Linked DNA regions of Homo sapiens: all the other regions are linked to region 3. Evidence: promoter capture Hi-C in 16 types of primary human blood cells and fetal thymus (Javierre and others, 2016). All regions are on one chromosome and are shown on one strand. Each heading gives the region's core, a stretch centred on a gene start or on the middle of the fragment in contact. The rest is flanking DNA. Distances are from core to core; before and after follow the strand shown. Region 1 holds the start of SNRNP40 (small nuclear ribonucleoprotein U5 subunit 40). Region 2 holds the start of PEF1 (penta-EF-hand domain containing 1). Region 3 holds the start of MECR (mitochondrial trans-2-enoyl-CoA reductase).

What was found. Contacts are between HindIII fragments. The CHiCAGO score rates a contact against its expected background, and 5 or more counts as called.
Region 1: the fragment with the promoter of SNRNP40 here is called in contact with a fragment that was not itself captured in region 3 in 2 of 17 cell types (activated CD4 T cells and total B cells); the score reaches 5.4 in activated CD4 T cells.
Region 2: a contact is called between the fragment with the promoter of PEF1 here and a fragment that was not itself captured in region 3, in 1 of 17 cell types (non-activated CD4 T cells). The highest score is 5.4, in non-activated CD4 T cells.

Annotation. Positions count from the first base shown.
Region 1 is chr1:31,295,018-31,298,419 of GRCh38, forward strand. It overlaps SNRNP40 (small nuclear ribonucleoprotein U5 subunit 40), which reads right to left and starts at 1,771. Exons shown (of 10, transcript NM_004814.3): 1 at 1,594-1,771. The coding sequence starts at 1,734. ZCCHC17 (zinc finger CCHC-type containing 17) reads left to right here and starts at 2,015. Exons shown (of 8, transcript NM_016505.4): 1 at 2,015-2,058. RefSeq lists an enhancer at 1,540-1,749. The HindIII fragment of the contact is 7,877 bases long and covers 1-3,402 here.
Region 2 is chr1:31,643,162-31,646,630 of GRCh38, forward strand. It overlaps PEF1 (penta-EF-hand domain containing 1), which reads right to left and starts at 1,715. Exons shown (of 5, transcript NM_012392.4): 1 at 1,680-1,715. The coding sequence starts at 1,703. PEF1-AS1 (PEF1 and COL16A1 antisense RNA 1) reads left to right here and starts at 975. Exons shown (of 6, transcript NR_184313.1): 1 at 975-1,135; 2 at 1,551-1,685. RefSeq lists enhancers at 1,445-2,215, 1,535-1,604, 1,845-2,184. The HindIII fragment of the contact is 8,144 bases long and covers 1-3,469 here.
Region 3 is chr1:29,229,993-29,233,044 of GRCh38, forward strand. It overlaps MECR (mitochondrial trans-2-enoyl-CoA reductase), which reads right to left and starts at 942. Exons shown (of 10, transcript NM_016011.5): 1 at 739-942. The coding sequence starts at 914. RefSeq lists enhancers at 318-818, 819-1,319, 844-953. The HindIII fragment of the contact is 752 bases long and covers 1,332-2,083 here.

The DNA.
Region 1 (3,402 bases), core at 521-3,020, 2.1 Mb after region 3:
TTCCAGTGGGAAAGGGGGAAGGGAGAAGGGAAGGTGAGAGAAAACAAGCAAACTATATATGTGGTGTCATGTGCTATAGAGCAAAAGAAGGGATGGGGATGGTGGCTCATGCCTGTAATCTCAGCATTTTGGGAGGCCAAGGTGTGCGGATTGCTTGAGCTCAGGAGTGAAATCCTGTCTCTACAAAAAAATACAATTAGTTAGATGTGGTGGTGTGTGTCTGTGGTCCCAGCTACTCAGGAGGCTGAGGCAGGAGGATCACTTGAGCCCAGGTGGTGGAGGCTGTACTGAGCCAGTGGTCAACACAGAGAGATTGTCTAAAAACAAAAAAACAAAAAAAGAGAGAGAGAGAAGCAATGTGGGTTCCACAGTATGTGGTACTGCAATTTAAAATAGGGTGGTCAGGAAAATCCTCACTGAAAAAATTACATTTGGGCAAATATTCGCAGGAGCTGAATAGTAAACCATGTAAACATTTGTGAAGAGCAATCCCACAGAGAGGACAGCAAATGCAAAGGTCCTGAAGCAGAGGCTTGGAAGAGAGAGTAACTGAAGCCAGGTGAGCAATAAGAAATTGGTCAGAGAGGTAAAGGGAAAGAGGGCAAATAATTACAAGAATTTTGGTTTTTACTCTGGATGAAGTACAAAGCCACCAGAAAGTTTTCTGCAGAGTGTAATGTGATCTGATGTTTAGAAGGATTCCTTTGGTTATTGGCTTGGTAACAGGTGCTGATACAAAGGTAGAAAGTGGAAGACCAGTTAGGGTCCCACTACAAAAATGCCAGATGAGATAATAATGGCTTAGGCCATGAGGCAATGATGGAGATGGTAGAAGTAGCAATTCTAGACCTATTTTGAGGACGGTGCCAGCAGGATTTATTGAGGAGATGTGAGGACACTCGTATTTCCTCGTCTGAGCCTAAACAGGACATTAGAAGTGTGATCACTATTTCTATCTTACAAAAAATGTAGTTAGGAGCATGGTTTCTCAGTTCGAAATCTGCTTCTATCACGTACTTGGTAAGTCTGTTTTTCCATCTGCAAAATGGGTTAATAACGTTCCTAACAGGCTGCTACCAAGATCAATGGAAATTTCATATACGAAACACTTTAGTACAAGAGTCAATGAATGTTAGCTGCTATTTAGTTGTTAATAATACTAGTGCAGAGAAATAAAGGGAAAAGCAACTTGCCCAAAGTCCCAAAACGAGCCAACACAAATCATTTCCCTTTTTTCTTCCCTCCCTCATTCATTCATTCTACACACTCTTCGGAATTTTTGTTCTATGCCAGATCCATGTTAGAGTCAGGATGCTTAAACCCGGGTCAGGGTTTTGAGCCCAAGGTCCTCAACTCTAATTCTAATGCTATCTCAGGGCAGTCGAGAGGCTGAAAACGGGCGCCAAACGGGGGAACACGTACGCAGCATTCGCAGGCTATGGGGAGCTTTTACAGTGTTTATGTGCTTTAACTCTGCGTAGAAACTCTCGTTCTGCCCCCGCAATGCGGGAAAGGGTCAGGGATCACCAGATACAGCGCTCTGAGGGGAGGAAGATGAGCTGAGGGCCAAAGGCCGCCTGCTTCTTCACTTACCGCTTGCAGCAAGGCTCCCGGCGTCGCCTGCTGCTGCCCGGCTCCTGGGCCAGACCCCGCTCCCAACAGCAACTCATGCCGCTGCCGCTTGACTGGAACCAGCGGCAACTCTGGGCCCTTACGCTTCTGCTGTTCTATCATGGCGGCAACCGGTCTCTTCAGCGCCGCCACTGACCGCGCTGCCGCTCTCAGGCGCCACGCAATTGGTTCCAAATTAGTCCTTCCTCCACAACTTCCAGCTTGGAAGAACCAATCGGCTTTCAATATTTCCATTTGCACCGCCCTCGGATAGTCTCTTGTTATTGGGCATATCTTTCTGACGTCATGAGAGTGCGATACCAGGATTGGTGGACGGAGCTGGCGACCGCCCTAGGCGCGCTGGGTCTTGTGGGTGGAAACGCGCTGGCTGACTGGGGTCGGCGTTTAGTTCAGCGCAGCGACTCGGGGACCTGGAGCTGACGCCTAGTACGTATGAGGAAGAACGGGGTGGGTGGCTGCCTGAGTCTGGAGGCGACGCCTCGGTTGTGCAGTCTGAACCTGCCCTTCTCAGCTGAGGGTGCTGACAGCAAGGGGTGGGAGGCGGGCCCCGAGTCCCCAGCTGTGGTAAGTAGTAGCCTGGGCTCCCTTTCGGGGCAGGAGCGGAGCCTTGGGGTCTCTGGCGGCAAGACCCAGCCCCTGCGGCTCCCTTCTTCAAGAGCGCCCATCGTGGCCAGTCCTGTGCCGGGCATTCCCAGGGAGAAAGGCCTGCGTCCCAGCCTCCTCCGGTGCCCCATTTGGCCGAGGAGGCTGACTTGTTTCTGCCACTGATTTTGCAGTTTTTGATCAGGGCCTACTGTATGCCCCCCTGAGAGAGACAGTGATGAAGGAAATGTCCGACTCCTTCTCCAGAGCACAGTCTTGTTGAGAAATTTGAGACTCATGCCCATGAACGTGGTCATTGCCTCAGTCGTCCTGCTGATATTCATTTAGCAGCGCGTTGGGGGTATGTTGTGAACCGGGCACGGTCCCTACTCTCAGGGCGTTTAACTCTGGTGGGGAAAACGTTAAACAATGACCTCACTAATACATGGAAATGCCTCCTACTGCTGCCTGATGCTATGAGTGCCTGAAATAAGCAGGAAGGTTTTTCAGAGGAAAAGATGCCTGCGCTGGTAGCTGCAGGAAGTGTTGTAATTAATTAGGTGAAGAAGTGAAGGCAGAACCTTCCATAGAGAACTACTTGTTCAGAGCCCTGAGGCACTTGGGAGGAAAATGACTAAAAGCACAAAGAGCCAGTGTGGCTGGTACAAAGAGAATGAAGGGAGTATGGTACAAGATGAAGCTGTACGTGATAGCGGTCAGACCTTGCAGGAATTTGTAGCTTTTATTTTAAAACGGATGAGATACCACTGAGCCGTCTTCCCCCAGTGGGGTGTGGTGGAGGAGGGGACTTGATCCCTCAGGCTCAGTGGTGTGAACAGACGGGGGTTGGGGAAGCCCTAGTCGATGTATGTGGACCACTTGGGATATGCAGTAATCCTGGTCAGAGATGTCAGTGAGGACTGAGATATGGGTGGAACTGCAGAGAATTGGACAGATTCTAGAGGTATATAGGAGGTAAAATGGGTGGGACTTGGTGATGGGTTGATTTTAGGGAGTGAAGAGAGGAATCAAAGGTAACTCCTAGGTTTCTGGCTTATGTAGTTGAATAGATGGTGGTACCATTCACTCACTATCACGGAATCCCTCAAGCTGGATAGGGAACACTAGAAGATGATTAGAGACCAGTTTTTTTTTGTTTTTTTTTTTTTTTTGAGACAGGTTCTTGCT
Region 2 (3,469 bases), core at 465-2,964, 2.4 Mb after region 3:
AAAGTGACCAGACATCTGAAAAGAAAGCCGGGAGGCGGAGTTTCTATGGTTAGATATGTTTAAGAAATACTGCATATTATATTCCTTTCTGGATGATTTACAATGTACATTAGCAAATTAAGGATTCTGAAATAGCTTGTGGTCAATAAACTTATTCAGCTATACTTAAGAGTATTTCCAAAACTTTAGTTAACTACAGAATCCTCCTATATTAACAATATCTATTAAAACCTCCCAAGACTCAGCAAATGGAATGGACTTTAGGAAGCAACTGCTATGCTACACTTCCTAACTCCAGCCCGCACTGGCCTCTCTCTTTCCTACCTCTCTCTAAGGATGCAATAAGAGAAGTCCTAAGCTCTGGTCATGGCCTCACCCTCACTTACTACGTGTGACTTTTGGGAAGCCACTTAACCTCTTTGGGTTTGCTCCTCAGCAGTTAATTAGGGGTAATAATACCTGCATGCCGATAGGGACTTCATGATTAGGATAATGGAGGTCCAAACACTGTGTAACCCGCACAAGACTGCACTCCCTGGAAGGACTGTTACATCTTTTGGCCTGTGACTAAACTCAGTTGAGCACTGTGTAATATACCAATTGATCTTGTTTTCCCACATTTCGTTTATGGATTTCATCTCCTAAATAACTGTGTGATCGCAGCCCTCTGTGGGCTTCATTTCCTCCTCTGTAAAATGAGGGCTCTATTTTGAGGACCCTCCGGGCACTGGCCTTTTAGAAGTCTACTAAAAATCAAAATGCTAAAGGGCAACACATGTTACACCTCACTATGTACCAAACGCTTCGTAAGCATCACCTCCTGACTCTCCACAACAGCTTTATGAGGCAGATCCTATTATTCGGCCCTATTTTACAGGCGGAAACTTGGACTCAGAAAGGCAAAACAGCTTGCTCAAGGGCTCACAACTATTTAGGTGGTAGAGCTAAGATATGAACCTACCTCTGACACCAAAGTGCACTTCAACACCCTACTATCACCCAACAAAGAATTCTGGCCACAGAATCACCTTGCTGCGGTATTCCTGACTGAATCAAGATACGCTGGGGAAGAGGCATCTGAAGATAGCCCGGGTTCTGACCTCGGCCCTGCTGCCTAACTGCCTGGTGACTTCAGGTAAGTTCTGTGTCTTCTCGGGGTTCACTTTTCTACACGCGAAATGGCGGTGTTGAACTAAGTCAGTGGTCAAACCAGCTCACTTGTGGCGCCTGCTACAACCAGAGTTTCCTGATGACTCTGATGCAGTGTGGGGTGGGTCCGGAAGCCTGGATTTTTATCCGACGCCCCAAATGAGATCGGCGGAACCAGAACTCTAAACCTCCGGTCATGGCTGATGCCCCCGCCCAAGGCCCCCATGAGGGCCTTGGGAGGCTGTGGAGCCCAGGCCAGCGCCAGCCTGGACCTGTGGGGTCCAAGGTCCCCAAATCCTCGAGTGAGCGACGTCAAGGGGGCGCGACACGACCTCGCGAATGTGCGGTCCTTCATGACGTGAGCAGGGCGCGACCGACGGTCCCTTTTCGGTTCTCTACAGCGCAAGGCCTCGCTGAAGCGAACCCATCGTGGGAAGGGCGCGGAGAAAGCGGGGAGAAAGAGCAGGGGGACGTCGGGCCTGCGCCTGGCACCGCCGCTACCTGGATTCGCGGGCCCCTCACACACTCACCTGCCGGTAAGGATAGCTGGCCATGGTGATTCTGACGTCACACTCAGGCAAGGGGTGGGGCTTTCCGCTCTCAAACCCGCCCCTCGTCTCGGCTTTGGGGCTGGGCCCGCATCTGATTGGACGTCCGCGCCTGTCAATCTTGGGTGCTGTCGGCCGACGGAAGTGACGATGGGGGCGGTGGGCGGATGCCTACCCGAGAGACCAGGGGAGCTAAGTGATTGATGGAGCTTCCGGAAGTCTTGGCGGCTGTACCAGCGCTAATGTTCCTCCTTTTCCTGAGGTGGAGTGGGCCGAAGAGGTGGTCAGGTTGGGAAATTTAGTGAGAAGCCTGGGTGGGGTGTTGCTGCGGTAGCCATGTTATAACCTGGCAAATGGGACGCATGATAGTGACGTAATTGCTGGAGTAGCTCCTGAGTTTCCGCAGATGAGCCGCGGGAAAGGAGACGAGGGGCGGTGGCCAGGCGGTTGCCCTGACAACGGGGAACCGACCGACTCTTCCCGGTAGGGAGAGGCGATGGCGGAATTACTCCTCTAATGTCAAGGTACTGGGTACCAGTTAGTACCCTTGTAGTGGGATACAGATCTGTGGTCTTTGGAGAAAAAAACCCCAGATCATTAGAGTTGGAGGAAAATTGAATTATCTAGTGCCTCTTTCTTCATAAATGGGGAAACTGAGGTGCAGAGAGGCAGTTGCCTTGCCCTAGCTCACAGTGGGTCGCCTAGAACCGGGGTCAATGGATGTCCAGTTCTCAGCAGGGAGGTCTAGGTCGGTCCCCATCGTAGGTCAAATCCTGGTGACCGAGTGATCTCAGCACCATGTACTTGCCACTCAGTGGTTCCGTTTCTACACTTATTTGTGTGCTTATTTGATTTCTTTGTCAAGTTCTTTCATGTGGGCTAGGGTTTTGTCTGTTTTTGCTTGTCATTATAACTCCAGTACCTAGTATAGCGACTGACACGATTATTAAAATAAATGAATAAATGAATGTTACGAACTGTTATCCAGTCTAGTCCATCTATCTAACCAAGTGCACTTTCCAAAATCACAGTGCTGATCATGCCACTTGCCCACTACACAGCCTACAATGGATGCTCTTCATCCACGCCTACAAAATAAGGCCCAATCTCTTCATTCTGGTACTCCAGGCCCTTCAGAATCTGGCCCAGCCTCAACTTTCCAATCTTACGGCCCCTTCTGCTACTCTGTATTTCTGTGCTCAGTTCCACCATTCAGCACTTCTGCTTTGGAGGGAGGATCTTTGTTTTATCACTTTCTAACTGTATCACCTTAGGCAGGTTTTTTGTTTGTTTGTTTTTAATTTCCAACTTTTAAGATCAGGGGTATATGAGCAGGATGTGGTTTGTTACATAGGTAAATGTGTGCCATGGTGGTTTGTCGCACACATCATCCCATCACCCAAGTGTTAAGCCCAGCATCCATTAGCTATTCTTCCTGATGCTCTCCCTCTTCCCACCTCCCTCTACGCTCCGACAGACCCCAGTGGTGTATGTGCTCTCCTCATTCAGCTCCCACTTATAAGTGGTAACATGCGGTGTTTGGTTTTCTGTTTCTCTGTTAGTTTGCTGAGGATAATGGCTTCCAATTCCATCCACGTCCCTGCAAAGGACATGATCTTGTTCCTTTTTTATGGCTGCATAGTATTCCACAGTGTATATCTACCACATTTTATTTAGGCAAGTTATTTAACCTCTCTAAATTTCACTTTTCTTAGCTGACAGGAACAAATGTGTAAATTTGAAAATGAGCTTATTATACCTGCTCATGCCCC
Region 3 (3,052 bases), core at 458-2,957:
AAACAGCTACTAAGACGTTGAGCCTGTATTTGACCAAATATAGATACTTGGGTCTGTATGGCACCAAAGCAGCTCTTTTTAACCAAGCCAAGATGCATATACGGTGCAGTGGAGAGAAACATGAGTTTGGAATCAGAAGCCATGGATTCCAGTCTCCTGTTCCAATCACTTATTAGCGGTATCACTCTGGGCAAGTCCCTTGCCCTCTGGAAACAATGATCTATGACCTACTCTTTACTGACACATGAAGATCCAAATGGATGTAAAAGTATTCTGAAAACTTCTTCCAAATAATAATAATAATAGTAAGAACTCACGCAGGTCAGTCAGACATAGGTTGGAATTCTGACCCTGTCACTTACTGGCTGTGTGACCTTGGACGAGTGATTTTACCTCTTCTGCCTCAGTTTTCATCTGCAAAATGGGGATAAATCAATAACTACCCCAAAACATTGTTGTGACAATTAAATGAGAGCATCCATTTAAACAAGGGATTGCCTGACACAATATTCGATCAATAAACATCAGCCATTAATACCCTGATAATTGCCTCTCGGGTCTTCAGCTACCTTCAAGTACGGTCTTTCTGACCTACCAAAAACGCCCTGGGCTTCGGCTTCGGTTTGCTATTCTCTGCCCCCTTCCTCGGACCCTGTCCCTCTCTTCCCAGTCCGCAGCTCGTGTTAAAGCCTTCCAGAAACCCCAGTCCCCTTCCCCGGCTTCGGCGCCGTCTCTTACTCGACGACCTTGGCTGGATCCCCGTGGTGCCCATAGACAAGCGCCCGGACCCGGGCAGGCTCGGCGGATGCGGAGTAGGAGGAGGCGGCAGGTCCGTGACAGCCAGAAGCTGGGAGCAGCCCCCGCCACTGCCGGGCGGGGGTTCGCACCCGCCACAGGGTACTGCAGACCCACATGCTCGCTCCAACCAACACAGAGCCTGACGCCCCGGCTACGTCATCTTCCAGCGACCGCGCGCCTGCGCCCCGCCCCTGCCCCGCCGGGTGACCACTCCCCCTTGGTCCCTTTGAAGGGCGTTTCCTTCCTTCGCTGCCCAAGTGGTGGCGCCTGGCTAGACTGCGTGTGGGCCCCGGAGGGATCCGGGGGTGCGGAGCTTGCGAGGCCGCCAAAGCTGTTGTCTCAACAAGGAGAGTCTGGGGCTAGTCCAAAGTCGTGTCTACAGCCTGCAGTTTGGTGTTTGATTTGGAGGAAATATTTACTCTCCCTGGCCTCAGTTTACCCTTCACATAATATATTGAGTGCTCACCGAGCCAGGCTCTTTAAGGTATTATCTCATTTAATCACCACTACCATGTAACGGCATAGGGAGGCAAAGCTTACTTCCCTACACTGAGGAGAGTACACGAAAGCTGCTGTGGAGGCAGGAGTATGGGGCTTGGAGTTAGAAAACTTAGGTTCAAATCCTAGCCCTGCCACTTCCTAGCTTGGCCACCTTGGGCAGGTGAAACTCTGAATTTTTCTCATCGGTACAATGGGGATAATATGCCTCCTTCCGGATTGTTGTGAGGATTGGATGAAATAATAGAGGAATGCTATTGTGGGTGGGAGAACGCATTGTAAAAAACTCTGTTCAGATGTAAGACAGGAATCACAAGGAGAAGGGTCCTCTCTCAAAATGCTCACAGTGTAGAAAGGGATTAAGTGGAACACTGGAAATGCCTGTAAAAAGGTGTAGCCCTATGAAGGATCTAGTCTGATTTTTGGTGTAGGGAAGACATGAACATTACTAAAACCCCAGATCGAGCTGTGGCTCGTGCCAGAGTGCAATGCTGTAGTCTGAAGAGAAGTGCTCTGGGATGGGGTGGGATGGGGTGGGGGCTCTTGGAGGAGGTGCTGTTAGAGCCAGCCCTGTGATTCAAAATCTTCTGTGTGCATAAAAATAATCCGAGGTCCCATCTTAGACCTACTGAATTAGAATCTTGCGGATGGGGGTTCCAGGAATCTACATCCTTACAAGCTCCCAAGAATATTCTGATGCAGGTGTCCCAGGAAACAGGTTTTAAGATACTGAGCCAGGGCTTTGAAGGATAAGGAAGAGTTCCTTTCCTGGATTTTATTGACTTGAAGCTTGCCATCTCCAAGCCTTTCCTCTGAGGAAGAGAGCACAGCAAAGTACTGTGAGCTAGATTTGGACAAACCTGGCTTTATGTCCTAGCTCTGCCATTTTCCAGCCATTTGATTTCGGACAAGTCACCAGGCCTCTCTGTGTCTTCACTTTCTTACTCTTAAAATGGAAGGAATACTAGTTATCTGTTTCAAGATTGTTGTGAGGGTCAAGTGAGATATTATCCACTTGAAGCATTTAGTACAATGCTTGGCACATGGAAGCATTTGATAAATATTATCGGGGGTTATTGTGATTAAATGAGAAATATCACACATAAAACCCTCAGACTAGGGTCTGGCTTATAGTATGTGCTCACTAAATGTCTGTACTTGTTTTTATTATTAGAGAAAGTTGGTGTCCCATGGTGGGGGAAAGGCTTGGCCCCACATTTATGTGCCAGCACACACACGATGACCAGTCCTGCTTACCCTTTTCCCCAGTGACACATAGGCTTACTTGAACTGGGAAGTACAACGTAACCTTCTGTTGTAAGACTCCCTAGGTGACATTGAGATGTCGACATTCTCTTCTTCACCAAATTGGCTCCTCTGAATTTCTGGGGAGCCCAGTCAGGAAGCCTGAAGAATCATCCAGCAAGTCCTCCTCCTTGGGGCTGGACTTTAGCCTCCTGTGCATCCCAATAGCCCTCACTTTTAGTCTAGGCCATCTGGGTTCTTGCAGGGGCATAGTTTGAGAACTACTGACTGAGGGGTTCAAGTCCAATTTCCTGGACTTGCATTCAAGATTCTTTGCACTCTGACTCCCACACTGCATTTCCAGCTTCATCTTCTCCTGTTGGACCGTGCATAGCCTGTGATCCAGCTGCATCTGATACCCGTCTTCCCCAGTGTGTCTTGTGCCTTTATTCAGGCCACTCCTTCTGCCTGAAATGCTGTTCCCTGCCTCGGAAACTCCAGGTTCAGATGT